Regions from separate parts of the Homo sapiens genome. Here region 2 is linked to region 1. Evidence: promoter capture Hi-C in human tissues and cell types (Jung and others, 2019). All regions are on one chromosome and are shown on one strand. The core of a region is centred on a gene start or on the middle of the fragment in contact, and the rest is flanking DNA. Distances in the headings are between cores, read along the strand shown.

Region 1 (5,393 bases), core at 1,636-4,135:
CACCACGTTGGCCAGGCCAGTCTCGAACTCCTGACCTCAGGGGATCTGCCTGCCTCAGCCTCCCAAAGTGCTGGAATTACAGGCATGAGCCACCATGACCAGCCAATATTGCATTTACTTAATACAGGAGTGGTGGAGACAGATGTAGTTAAAATAAATGGTGGGGCTGGGGGGTGGTGGCGGCTACAGAGTTGCGAGGCTGGAATTTGGGCAATGAGCTGTTTCAGAAACTGCTGTCTTATTCCAAAACCCAGATTATGTTCTTTTTTTTTTGAGACAGGGTCTCGCTCTGTCGCCCAGGCTGGAGTGCAGTGGCTCAATCACAGCTCACTGCAGCCTCTGCCTCCTGGCTCAAGCAATTCTACATCTTCCCACCTCAGCCTCCCAAGTAGATGGGGCCACAGGCAGGCACCATCACAGCCAACAAAATTTTTTTGTATTATTTGTAGTGATGGGGTTTGGCTACATTGCCCAAGGCTGGAGTGCAGTGGTGCGATCTTGGCTCACTGTAACCTCCACCTCTCAGGTTCAAGTGATTTTCCTCCCTTGGCCTCCTGAGTAGCTGGGATTACAGGCACAGGCCACCATGCCCGGCTAATTTTCGTATTTTTAGTAGAGACGGGGTTTCACCATGTTGGCCAGGCTGGTCTCAAACTCCTGACCTCACGTGATCCGCCCGCCTCGGCCTCCCAAAGTGCTGGGATCTCATCAAATAAAAGAAAAGACTAACGCATAAGGAATGGTGAAATAGTTCAGAAGTCGGTTTCCACCCAAGTTTCTGGCTCTGCCAGCCTGCAGGGGTGCAGGGGGTGTCTGTAGGTCTTGGCACACCAGGCCTGGCTGATTCAGGGCCAGGCAGGTGACCCCAGTAGTGGGTGAGGTCTGAGGTCACAGCCCGCTGGGGCACCCTGAGGTGGACTGAGGCAGGTGAGGGAGGGTGCTGCCGTCTGTCGAAAACATTCCCAGCCGGTGGCATCAGTGCGCTCACGCAGGCGTCGGCAGCAGCGTCTGGAATGTGCTGTAAGGAGGCTGCCAGGCCCTTCCAGAGTGAGGTCGAGTCCTCGTTCTGGGCTGATGGGGAAACTGAAGTGCCAGGGTTTGGGGATGGAGGATAGCTTGAGCTGAGGCCCCCGAGCCCCCGTGTGGTCAGGCCCCCTAACTGAGCCCCAGCTACATCTTTGCTCCCTCTCCCCAGCCCCACTCTGCTCAAATTGCTCCTCTGTCCACGCTTGTTCCTGCCTCAGGGCCTTTGCACTTGTTTTGTTTTGAGACAGGGTCCTGTTCTGTCAACCCAGGCTGGAGTACAGTGGCGCCATCTCAGCTCACTGCAGTCTAAACCTCCTGGGCTCAAGCAGTCCTCCTGCCTCAGCCTCCCGAGTATCTGGGACCACAGGTGTGCACCACCATGCCTGGCTAATTTCTTTTTTTCCTTTGGTGGAGACTGGGTCTCAGTATCTCGGTTGCCCAAGGCTTGTCTGGAACTCCTGGGCTCAAGCGATCCTCCCGCCGCAGCCTCCCAAAGTGCTGGGATTACAGGCCTGAGGCACTGAACTGACCTCCCTTTGCACTTTTTTTTTTTTGAGACAGGTTCTCGCTCTGTCACCCAGGCTGGAGTGCAGTGGCGAGATCTTGGCTCACTGCAACCTCCGCCTCCCGGGTTCAAGCGATTCTCCTGCCTCAGCCTCCCGAGTAGCTGGGATTACAGGTGCCCGCCACCACCCCCGGATAATTTTTGTATTTTTACTAGAGACGGGGTTTTGCCATGTTGCCAGGCATGCTTGCGTATTTGCCAAGCTGGTCTCGAACTCTGACCTTAGGTGATCCGCCCGCCTCAGCCTCCCAAAGTGCTGGGATGACAGGCCTGAGCCACCAAACCAGCTCCCCTTTGCAACTGGGATATTAGCCTGGAACACAGTTACCCCCAGATATTCCTATTCTCACCCTTCCCAAGCCTACTGCCCCACAGCAGGCGCTCCCGCCTCTGGCCTGCTGCCCCGGCTGAACGACACAGGTGGGCACACCTTCCAGGTTCCATTCTAAAGCTCCCGCCCTGCTCCTCCTAGGCAGGATCACGCGGAGACCAGGGCAGGCTCTAGGCTCCGAGGTTTATTTCATTCCCTTGACCTCACCCCACTTAGCAGGTGAATCCAAGCCTGCCGCTCCATTCGGCTCCTGCCCCTGAGGGCTTGGGGATTGGAGGGTAAACTGAAGCTGGAGGCTGGGAGTCTCGCGGACTGGGGCTTTCTCTCCTTGCAGCCTCCCTGAGGTCGCACGTGCTGTGTCTTCCAGCAACTTGGTGGCCCTCTCTGAGCCTCAGCTTCCTCCATGATAGACGGCATCCTAATGACTCTTACCCAAAAGTTGTCGTTGGAGCAATGAAGGTTGCGGACAGGAATCTCTAAATTGCAGATGCTGTCCTCGTTATTAGATGAGTATGCCTTGAAAAAAAAAAAAAAAAAGCCGGGCACGGTGGCGGCGTCTGCAATCCCAGCGCTTTGGGAAGCCGAGGGGCGAGGATCTCTTTACCCCAGCAGTTCGAAGCTGCACTGAGCTATGATCACGCCACTGCACTCCAGCCTGGGCCACAACGCGTCCAAAACAAAACCAAAAAAGAAAGAAAAACAGAAAAAAAGTCCGGATTTGAGGTCCTCGGGAAAACAGCCTGAGAGTGCCTCCCAGTTGCCACGGCAACAGCTCTGTCCCGCCCCCTCCCTTTAAAAACAGCAGGAGGAACCAATCAGAGCGTCCACCGGCGCATGCCTTCGCGCCTCCGCTGCATCCTGGGAGTCTACTTCCGGCTGGGGTTTCCCTTCGCAGCCTCCGTCGACCATGAAACCACAACTCCCGGCAGGCGGCGCGGGCGCATGCGCAGGCGCGGGCCGGTGGGGTGGCCTGGAGCGGCGTGCGTAATGTCGGCACTTTGCTGGGGCCGCGGAGCGGCGGGGCTCAAACGAGCCCTACGGCCTTGCGGCCGCCCGGGACTCCCCGGCAAAGAAGGTAACACAAAGGGAGACGGCCAGGCAGCCCGGGGGCCACGGCGTGGGCTCCTCCCCGCGCGGCCGGGGCCTTTGGCGCTTTGACCTTTGCCTCTTTGCACCTGGGCGTGCGCAGCCCACCGACCCGGCCCCGCTTTCCACTCGCCCTTGCCCGCTTTTCGACTGAGGCTCCTCCGTGCAGTCTGACCTTTGACTCGTGGTTTCTTATGCAGCCTCCTGACCCCAGGTGTGGTGTTTAGGGCTCTTAACCTTTGACCTGCTGCACCTCGAGTGCGAGGAACCCTCTCTCGGCGGTTCCGCGCCCGTGTTCGCCGCGGCGGGGCCCTTCCACCTTCGCTGTCTTAGTTTCTTTCCAACTTAAGCCCGTGCTCCGAGAGTTTCCGCTGCGTTTAGGGCTCCTTTGCCCTTCGACCCTTCGGCTTCTGCCTTTATGGAGGCCCCCGCCCACACGCCCGGCCCCGCTCAGCCGCTCTCGTCTTTCCCGCAGGGACCGCCGGTGGCGTCTGCGGCCCCAGGAGGAGCTCGTCCGCCAGCCCCCAGGAGCAAGACCAAGACCGCAGGAAGGACTGGGGCCACGTGGAGCTGCTGGAGGGTGAGCGCGACCCCCACGGCGGCCCGGGAGAGGAGAGTCCGCTCCCTGCTGCCGGGAGAAAAGGCAAAGGCTCAGATTCTGAGACAGGCTGAGGGCGGTCTCCACCTCTCGGGTCCCAGGACACGCCCAGACGGCGTTGCTGAAACATCTCTTGCACCGCTCATGGGCCCTGTCCTTGCTGAGCAGGCTCCTTCCTGGAGCTCTCGTAATTCCCCCTCCCCAGAACCCCACCAGGTGCTCCCACTTTCCAGGGACATAGGTGAGGCCCAAGATTATGTCTGGAGAGACCCCCCCCCCGGCCCCGCCGCCAAGGCCACATGTGCAGAGCCAGGATGTGAACCCTGAACTGACTCAGCTGTCCTGGCTTGGCTCTGGGGGGTAGGCGCCTAATGGAGACTGGATGACTGCGAAACTTGGGAGGGACAGCCCAGGCTCCAGCGGTGGCAGGCCCTCGTCCTGGCCTGGCTGGTGGTGTGGGAGGGAGGTGGGAGCTTCCCTGTGCTTGCTTCCCGCCGGTGCTTCTGTCCCACATCCTGTCTGCGTCCATTAGGCAGCCGGGAAGGGAGAGGCGGGAGAACCTTTATAAAGGGAAAAAACCTGGCCAGGTGCGGTGGCTCACGCCTGTAATCCCAGCACTTTTGGGTGGCCGAGGTGGGCGGATCAAGAGGTCGGGGGTTCGAGGCCTGGTGCGGTGGCTCACGCCTGTACTCCCAGCACTTTTGGGTGGCCAAGGTGGGCGGATCAAGAGGTCAAGGGTCCGAGGCCTGGTGCGGTGGCTCACGCCTGTAATCCCAGCACTTTGGGAGGCCGAGGCGGGCGGATCAAGAGGTCATGAGTTCAAGACCAGCCTGGCCAACATGGTGAAACACTGTCTCTACTAAAAATACAAAAATTAGCTGGGCATGGTGGTGAACGCCTGCAGTGCCAGCTACTCAGGAGGCTGAGGCAGGAAAATCGCTTGAACCCGGGGAGACTGAGACAGGAGAATCGCTTGAACCCGGAAGGTGGAGGTTGCGGTGAGCCGAGATCATGCCATTGCACTCTAGCCTGGGCAACGAGGGAAATTCCATCTCAAAAACAAAACAAAACAAAACAAAGCTCTCAACTGTTAATCCTAAAAGTATCTCCTGAGTTTTGGAGCACTCTGAAGGCGGACATCACGCTTGTCTTTTTATTTCAGCAATTTTTTTTTTCTTGAGACGGATTCTCAATCTGTTGCTAGGCTGGAGTGCAATGGTGCGATCTTGGCTCACTGCAGCCTCCGCCTCCCGAGTTCAAGCAATTCTCCTGCCTCAACCTCCCGAGTAGCTGGAACTACAGGCGCGCACCACCACGCCCGGTTAATTTTTCGTATTTTTAGTAGGGACGGGGTTTCACCGTGTTAGCCAGGATGGTCTTGATCTCCTGACCTCGTGATCCGCCTGCCTCGGCCTCCTAAAGTGCTGGGATTACAGGCGTGAGCCACCACATCTGGACACCTGGGTCCCCCCCCCCCTTTTTTTTTTTGAGACAGGGTCCTGCTCTGTCTCTCAGGCTGCAGCACGGTGGCCTGATCACGGCTCACAGCAGCCAGGAACTCCTAGGCTTAGGTGATTCTTTCACCTCAGCCACCGGAGTAGCTGGGACCACAGGTGCGCGGCCCTGTACCCGGCTTATTTCAACAGTCTTTTTTTTTTAGATGGATTATTGTTCTGTTGCCCAGGCTGGAGTTCAATGGCGCTATCTTGAGTCACTGCAACCTCTGCCTCCCAGGCTCAAGCAATTCTCCTGCCTCAGCCTCCCAAGTAGCTGGTACTATAGACACA
Region 2 (5,393 bases), core at 2,657-5,156, 120 kb after region 1:
CCAGCCCAGGCCTCCCTCCTCCCAGTCCCCTCCCAGCCCAGGCCTCCCTCCCCCAAGCATCCCCAGCCTGGGCCTCTCCTCCCCCAGCATCTCCAGCCCAGGCCTCCTCCTCTCAGCCCCCTCCCAGCCCTGGCCTCTCCTCCCCCCAGTATCCCAAGCCCAGGCCTCCCTCCTCCCAGCCCCTACCCAGCCCGGGCCTCCCTCTTCCCAGCCCCTACTCAACCTGGGCCTCCCCTCCCCACCCCACCAGCACTCCCAGCCTGGGCCTCCCTCCTCCCAGCCCCTACCCAGCCTGGACCTCCCCTCCTCCCAGCTCCCACCCAGCCTGGCCTCCCTCCTCCCAGCCCCTACCCAGCCGGGGCCTCCCTCTTCCCAGCCCCTACTCAACCTGGGCCTCCCCTCCCCACCCCACCAGCACTCCCAGCCTGGGCCTCCCTCCTCCCAGCTCCCACCCAGCCTGGCCTCCTTCCTCCCAGCACCCCCCAGCCCGGGGCTCCCTCCTCCCAGCACCCACCCAGCCAGGCCTTCCTCCTCCCAGCACCCCCTCAGCCTGGGCCTCCCCTCCCCACCAGCACCCCCAGCCTCGGCCTCCTCCCAACCTGGATCTCCCTCCTCCCAGCCTCTACCCAGCCTGGGCCTCCTCCCAACCTGGATCTCCCTCCTCCCAGCCTCTACCCAGCCTGGGCCTCCTCCTCCCAGCCCCCACCCAGCCTGGCCTCCCTCCTCCCAGCACCGCCCAGCCCGGGCCTCCCCTCCCCACCAGCACCCCCAGCCTCGGCCTCCTCCTCCCAACCTGGGTCTCCCTCATCCCCGCCTCCACCCAGCCTGGCCTCCCCCGTCCCAGCCCCTACCCAGCCTCGGCCTCCTCCTCCCAGCACCCCCCAGCCTGGCCTCCCCCCTCCCAGCCCCCACCCAGCCTGGCCTCCGTCCTCCCAGCACCCCCCAGCCTGGGTCTCCCCCCTTCTAGCCCCCACCCAGCCTGGCCTCCCTCCTCCCAGCCCCCACCCATCCTGGCCTCCCCCCTCCCAGCCCCCACCCAGCCTGGCCTCCGTCCTCCCAGCACCCCCCAGCCTGGGCCTCCCCCCTTCCAGCCCCCACCCATCCTGGCCTCCATCCTCCCAGCCCCCACCCAGCCTGGCCAGCCCCCACCCAGCCTGGCCTCCCCCCTCCCAGCCCCCACCCAGCCTGGCCTCCCCCCTCCCAGCCTCCACCCAGCTCAGGCCTCTCCTCCCCGCAGCTCCCATCCAGCCCTGGCTTCCCAGCTCCAACTGGACCGGCCTCAGGGCCTCTGCAAGGGCCGTGACACTGCCTTCCCCCAGATCTCCCTCACCTCCTCCCTGGTCTCCTCCAGGTCTCTCCTCAAATGTCGCCTCCCCTGACCCCTAACTCCTTTCCTCCTGTTTTCTTCCTAGTGGTCATCCTGTCTCACTCGCTGTCCCACATCCCTGTGAGCTTCATGTCTCCCACCAGTGTGAGCACCTGCCCTCCAGGGCCGGAAGTTCGTCTTGGTTATAGCCCTGGTGCCCAGAACACTGCCCTGCCCACAGTAGGTGCTCAGTAAATGTCTTGAATCAACGGCAGGCATCTGTCTGGGGCATCTGGCCCCAGTGAAGAAGGAATTAGTGAAATCAGCTCTAACCTAATAGTAGTAGTCATAGAAATTTTAAAATCCTCTTAAAGTTGCTGCAAAGTGTGACCCCCACCCTTACACTCAAGTTAAAAGAGAATGTTAACAGCCTGTCTTCTCTCTGTAGTCAGTGGACCTTATCTATACTCTCCAACTCCACATTCCTCAGTTTATTACAGGCCCAGCGAGTTCCTGCTTACCTCCCTAGCACGGCTGCAGGGTCACAAAACCGATAAGTTTAGGTTGTAAGACATGTTTTTCTCAAGATGTGAGAAATGTTGGCCAGGCACGGTGGCTCACGCCTGTAATCCCAGCACTTTGGGAGGCCGAGGTGGGAGGATCACAAGGTCAAGAGATTGAGGCCATCCTGGCCAACATGGTGAAACCCCATCTCTACTAAAAATACAAAAATTAGCGGGACGTGGTGGTACACGTCTGTAGTCCCAGCTACTCGGGAGTCTGAGGCAGGAGAATCGCTTGAACCTGGGAGGTGGAGGTTGCGGTGAGCCAAGATGGCGCCACTGCACTCCAGCCTGGGCGACAGAGCGAGACTCCGTCTCAAAAAAAAAAAAAAGAAAAAGAAAAAAGAAATGCTGTAATGCTTAACTGCCTTTGTTTCTCGCCTCTGTAACTTGCTTCCCGCCTCACGTAGTTCCCGCCTTACGATGTTTAAAAATAGGAAAAGCCCTTTGTTCGAGGCTCAGACTTTCTGGATGTATGTCCAGCTGAGCCGGTGATCACCTTGATAAACTCTCCTGAACCTTTTTCGGTCTCTCCACTCTTTGTCCCACAACACCAGGACCCTCTGGTCTCCCTCCCTGCAGCAGCAGCGCCTGTTTACATGTGGCCAAATACTGTGCCCAACATTTAACACAACTGACATTTGTTTTTTTCTTTTCTTTCTTTCTTTCTTCCTTTTTTTTTTTTTTTTGAGACGGAGTCTCGCTCTGTCGCCCGGGCTGGAGTGCAGTGGCGGGATCTCGGCTCACTGCAAGCTCCGCCTCCCGGGTTCACGCCATTCTCCTGCCTCAGCCTCCCAAGTAGCTGGGACTACAGGCGTCCGCCACTATGCCCGGCTAATTTTTTGTATTTTTAGTAGAGACGGGGTTTCACCGTTTTAGCCGGGATGGTCTCGATCTCCTGACCTCGTGATCCACCCGCCTCGGCCTCCCAAAGTGCTGGGATTACAGGCGTGAGCCACCGCGCCCGGCCCTCTTTCTTTTTTTGAGACAGTGTCTCACTCTGTTGTCAGGCTGGAGTGCAGTGGCACAATCTCAGCTCACAGCAACCTCCACCTCCCGGGTTCAAGCGATTCTCCTGCCTCAGCCTCCTGAGCTGCTGGGATTACAGGCGTGTGTTACCACACCCAGCTAATTTTTGTATTTTTAGTAGAGACGGGGTTTCACCATGTCGGCCAGGATGGTCTGGATCTCGAGTGACCTCGTGGTCCGCCCACCTCGGCCTCCCAAAGTGCTGGGATTACAGGTGTGAGCCACTGCGCCCAGTCTGTGCTGAACATTTAACACAGCTGACATTGCATTTTTTCTTTTTTTTTTTTTTTTGAGACAGGGTCTCACTGTGTTGTGCAGGCTGGAGAGCAGTGGTACAATCAGGGCTCACAGCAGCCTCCACCTCCTGGGCTCAAGCGATCCTCCTGCCTCAGCCTCCCAAACTGCTGGGATTACAGGTGACAGTTGCTGCTCGGGGCCAGTGGTGGTATTTCTCTCCCCACAATCCCACAGGCAAGGCCCCACAGTCAGCCTGAGGGTCAAATACGACCTGCTGCCTGCTTTTGTAAATAAAGCTTTATCGGAACATAACCACATCAGTCCGCTGACATGTGGCCTGTGGCAGCTTCCGACCAGAACCGTAGAGCTGAATGTCAGGATGGAGGCTGCCACGCAAAGCTGAAATGTTCACTATCTGGCCCCTTACAGAAGAAGGCTGTCAGCCCTGCTGCCGGCTCTGGGGTGGGTTCGATTCCCTGCCCCAGTGAGGAGCCTGAGGCCTTACTACGTGCCACTCGTGTGCTGGTAGTGTGACACACACTCCCGTGGAGGGCACCAGGGAGTGGCCAGGGAGCACCGTGGCCAGCGTGGGGGCCGCTGCAGGACCCTGGGTGGGCTGCTTAACCCCCTGGCCTCACTCCCCCCATCAGTTCCCGGCCAGGCCTCATGCTAGTGGCCTGTTACTTCCTCTGGGACATATAGGGAAACTGAGGCTCAGGGCAGCCCCATGGTCTGGCCAAGGGTCCCAGAGAGGAAGTGGCCAACCTCAGGGCTTACGCTTTTCCCTTCTGGGAGCTCAGCTTCATGGTGAGGAGGGCAGCCTTCCCTCCGGCATGACCTGGGCACACGACTTCACCTTTCTGTGGGCCACCTGTGGTAGGTGCCGGGGAAGTGCTAAGCCAGCATGCAGTAGGTGCTCAGTAAATGCAGGGTTGGTGTGCAGCAGGTGCTCAGTAATGCAGGGCTGGTACACAGTAGGTGCTCAGTGATGCTGGGCCAGAATGCAATAGGTGCTCAGTAAATGTGGGGCTGGTGTGCAATAGGTACTCAGTAATGCTGGGGCGGTGTGCAGTGGGTGCTCAGTAAATGCTGGGCCAGTAAGCAATAGGTGCTTAGTAAACGTGGGGTCGGTGTGCAGTGGGTGCTCAGTAATACAGGGCCGGTGTAGAGTAGGTGCTCAGTGAATGCAGGGCCAGTACACGGTAGGTACTCAGTAATGCTGGGGCGGTGTGCAGTGGGAGTGAAGTAAATGCTGGGCCAGCATGCAATAGGTGCTCAGTAAATGTAGGGTCAGTGTGCAGTGGGTGCTCAGTAATACAGGGCTGGTGTACAGTAGGTGCTTAGTGAATGCAGGGCTGGTACATAGTAGGTGCTCAGCAAATGTGGGGCCAGTGTGCAGTGGGTGCTCAGTAATGCTGGGTCTGTGTACAGTGGGTGCTCAGTAAATGCTGGGCCAGCATGCAATAGGTGCTCAGTAAATGTGGGGCCGGGGCAGGTTGGTGTGCAGCAGGTGCTCAGTAATGCAGGACTAGTGCACAGTAGGTGCTCAGTAATGCTGGGGTTGTGTGCAGTGGGTGCTCACTAAATGCTGGGCCAGGATGCAATAGGTGCTCAGTAAATGTGGGGCCAGTGTGCAGTAGGTGCTCAGTAAATGTGGGGCTGGTGTGCAGTAGGTACTCAGTAATGCTGGGCTGGTGTGCAGTAGGTACTCAGTAATGCTGGGCTGGTGTGCAGTAGGTACTCAGTAATGCTGGGCTGGTGTGCAGTAGGTACTCAGTAATGCAGGGCCAGTATGCAGTAGGTGCTCAGTAATGCTGGGCTGGTGTGCAGTAGGTGTTCAGTAATGCAGGGCCGGCATGCAGTAGGTGCTCAGTAAATGCTGGGCGGGTGCACAGTAGGTGCTCAGTAATGCTGGGCCGGTGCACGGTGGGTGCCTGGTGAACACGTGCCTCCCTGGTCATCACTGCTGCTCAGTTCAGGGCTTAGGGATGGACGTGCCATCTCAGCGAGCTCGAGGGTCAAAGCTCTGCTATGGAGGAGGAAACTGAGGCCCAGAGGCAGGAGGGCAGCGACCTGCAATTCAACTCTAGGCCCATCTGGCTGTACGCTCCTTTTCCCTCCCAAGTAGTAAAGGCCCCATTTGTTGGCCCTTATAATCCGCTGGGCGCTTTTACCATCCATGAGGTCATCCCCAAAATGCGCTGGGGGCAGTCGCAGTGTCAGCGCGGCGGCCCGAGCTCCCATCACGCCTGACCTCT

The links. Contacts are between HindIII fragments. The study calls those that stand out against the background at their distance.
Region 2: a contact is called between a fragment that was not itself captured here and the fragment with the promoter of POLRMT in region 1, in 2 of the 25 tissues and cell types used here (IMR-90 fibroblasts and pancreas).

The regions. Positions count from the first base shown.
Region 1 is chr19:631,029-636,421 of GRCh38, reverse strand. It overlaps POLRMT (RNA polymerase mitochondrial), which reads left to right and starts at 2,885. Exons shown (of 21, transcript NM_005035.4): 1 at 2,885-2,997; 2 at 3,484-3,588. The coding sequence starts at 2,910. It overlaps LOC105372234 (a long non-coding RNA gene), which reads right to left and starts at 2,958. Exons shown (of 2, transcript XR_936226.2): 1 at 2,527-2,958; 2 at 1-2,438. RefSeq lists silencers at 2,672-2,931, 2,942-3,101. The HindIII fragment of the contact is 7,301 bases long and covers 2,813-5,393 here.
Region 2 is chr19:513,197-518,589 of GRCh38, reverse strand. The region is part of intron 1 of TPGS1 (tubulin polyglutamylase complex subunit 1); the gene reads right to left. Among named protein-coding and RNA genes, the nearest start is that of MADCAM1-AS1, 8.0 kb to the right of the region's middle. RefSeq lists an enhancer at 1-132. The HindIII fragment of the contact is 7,591 bases long and covers 111-5,393 here.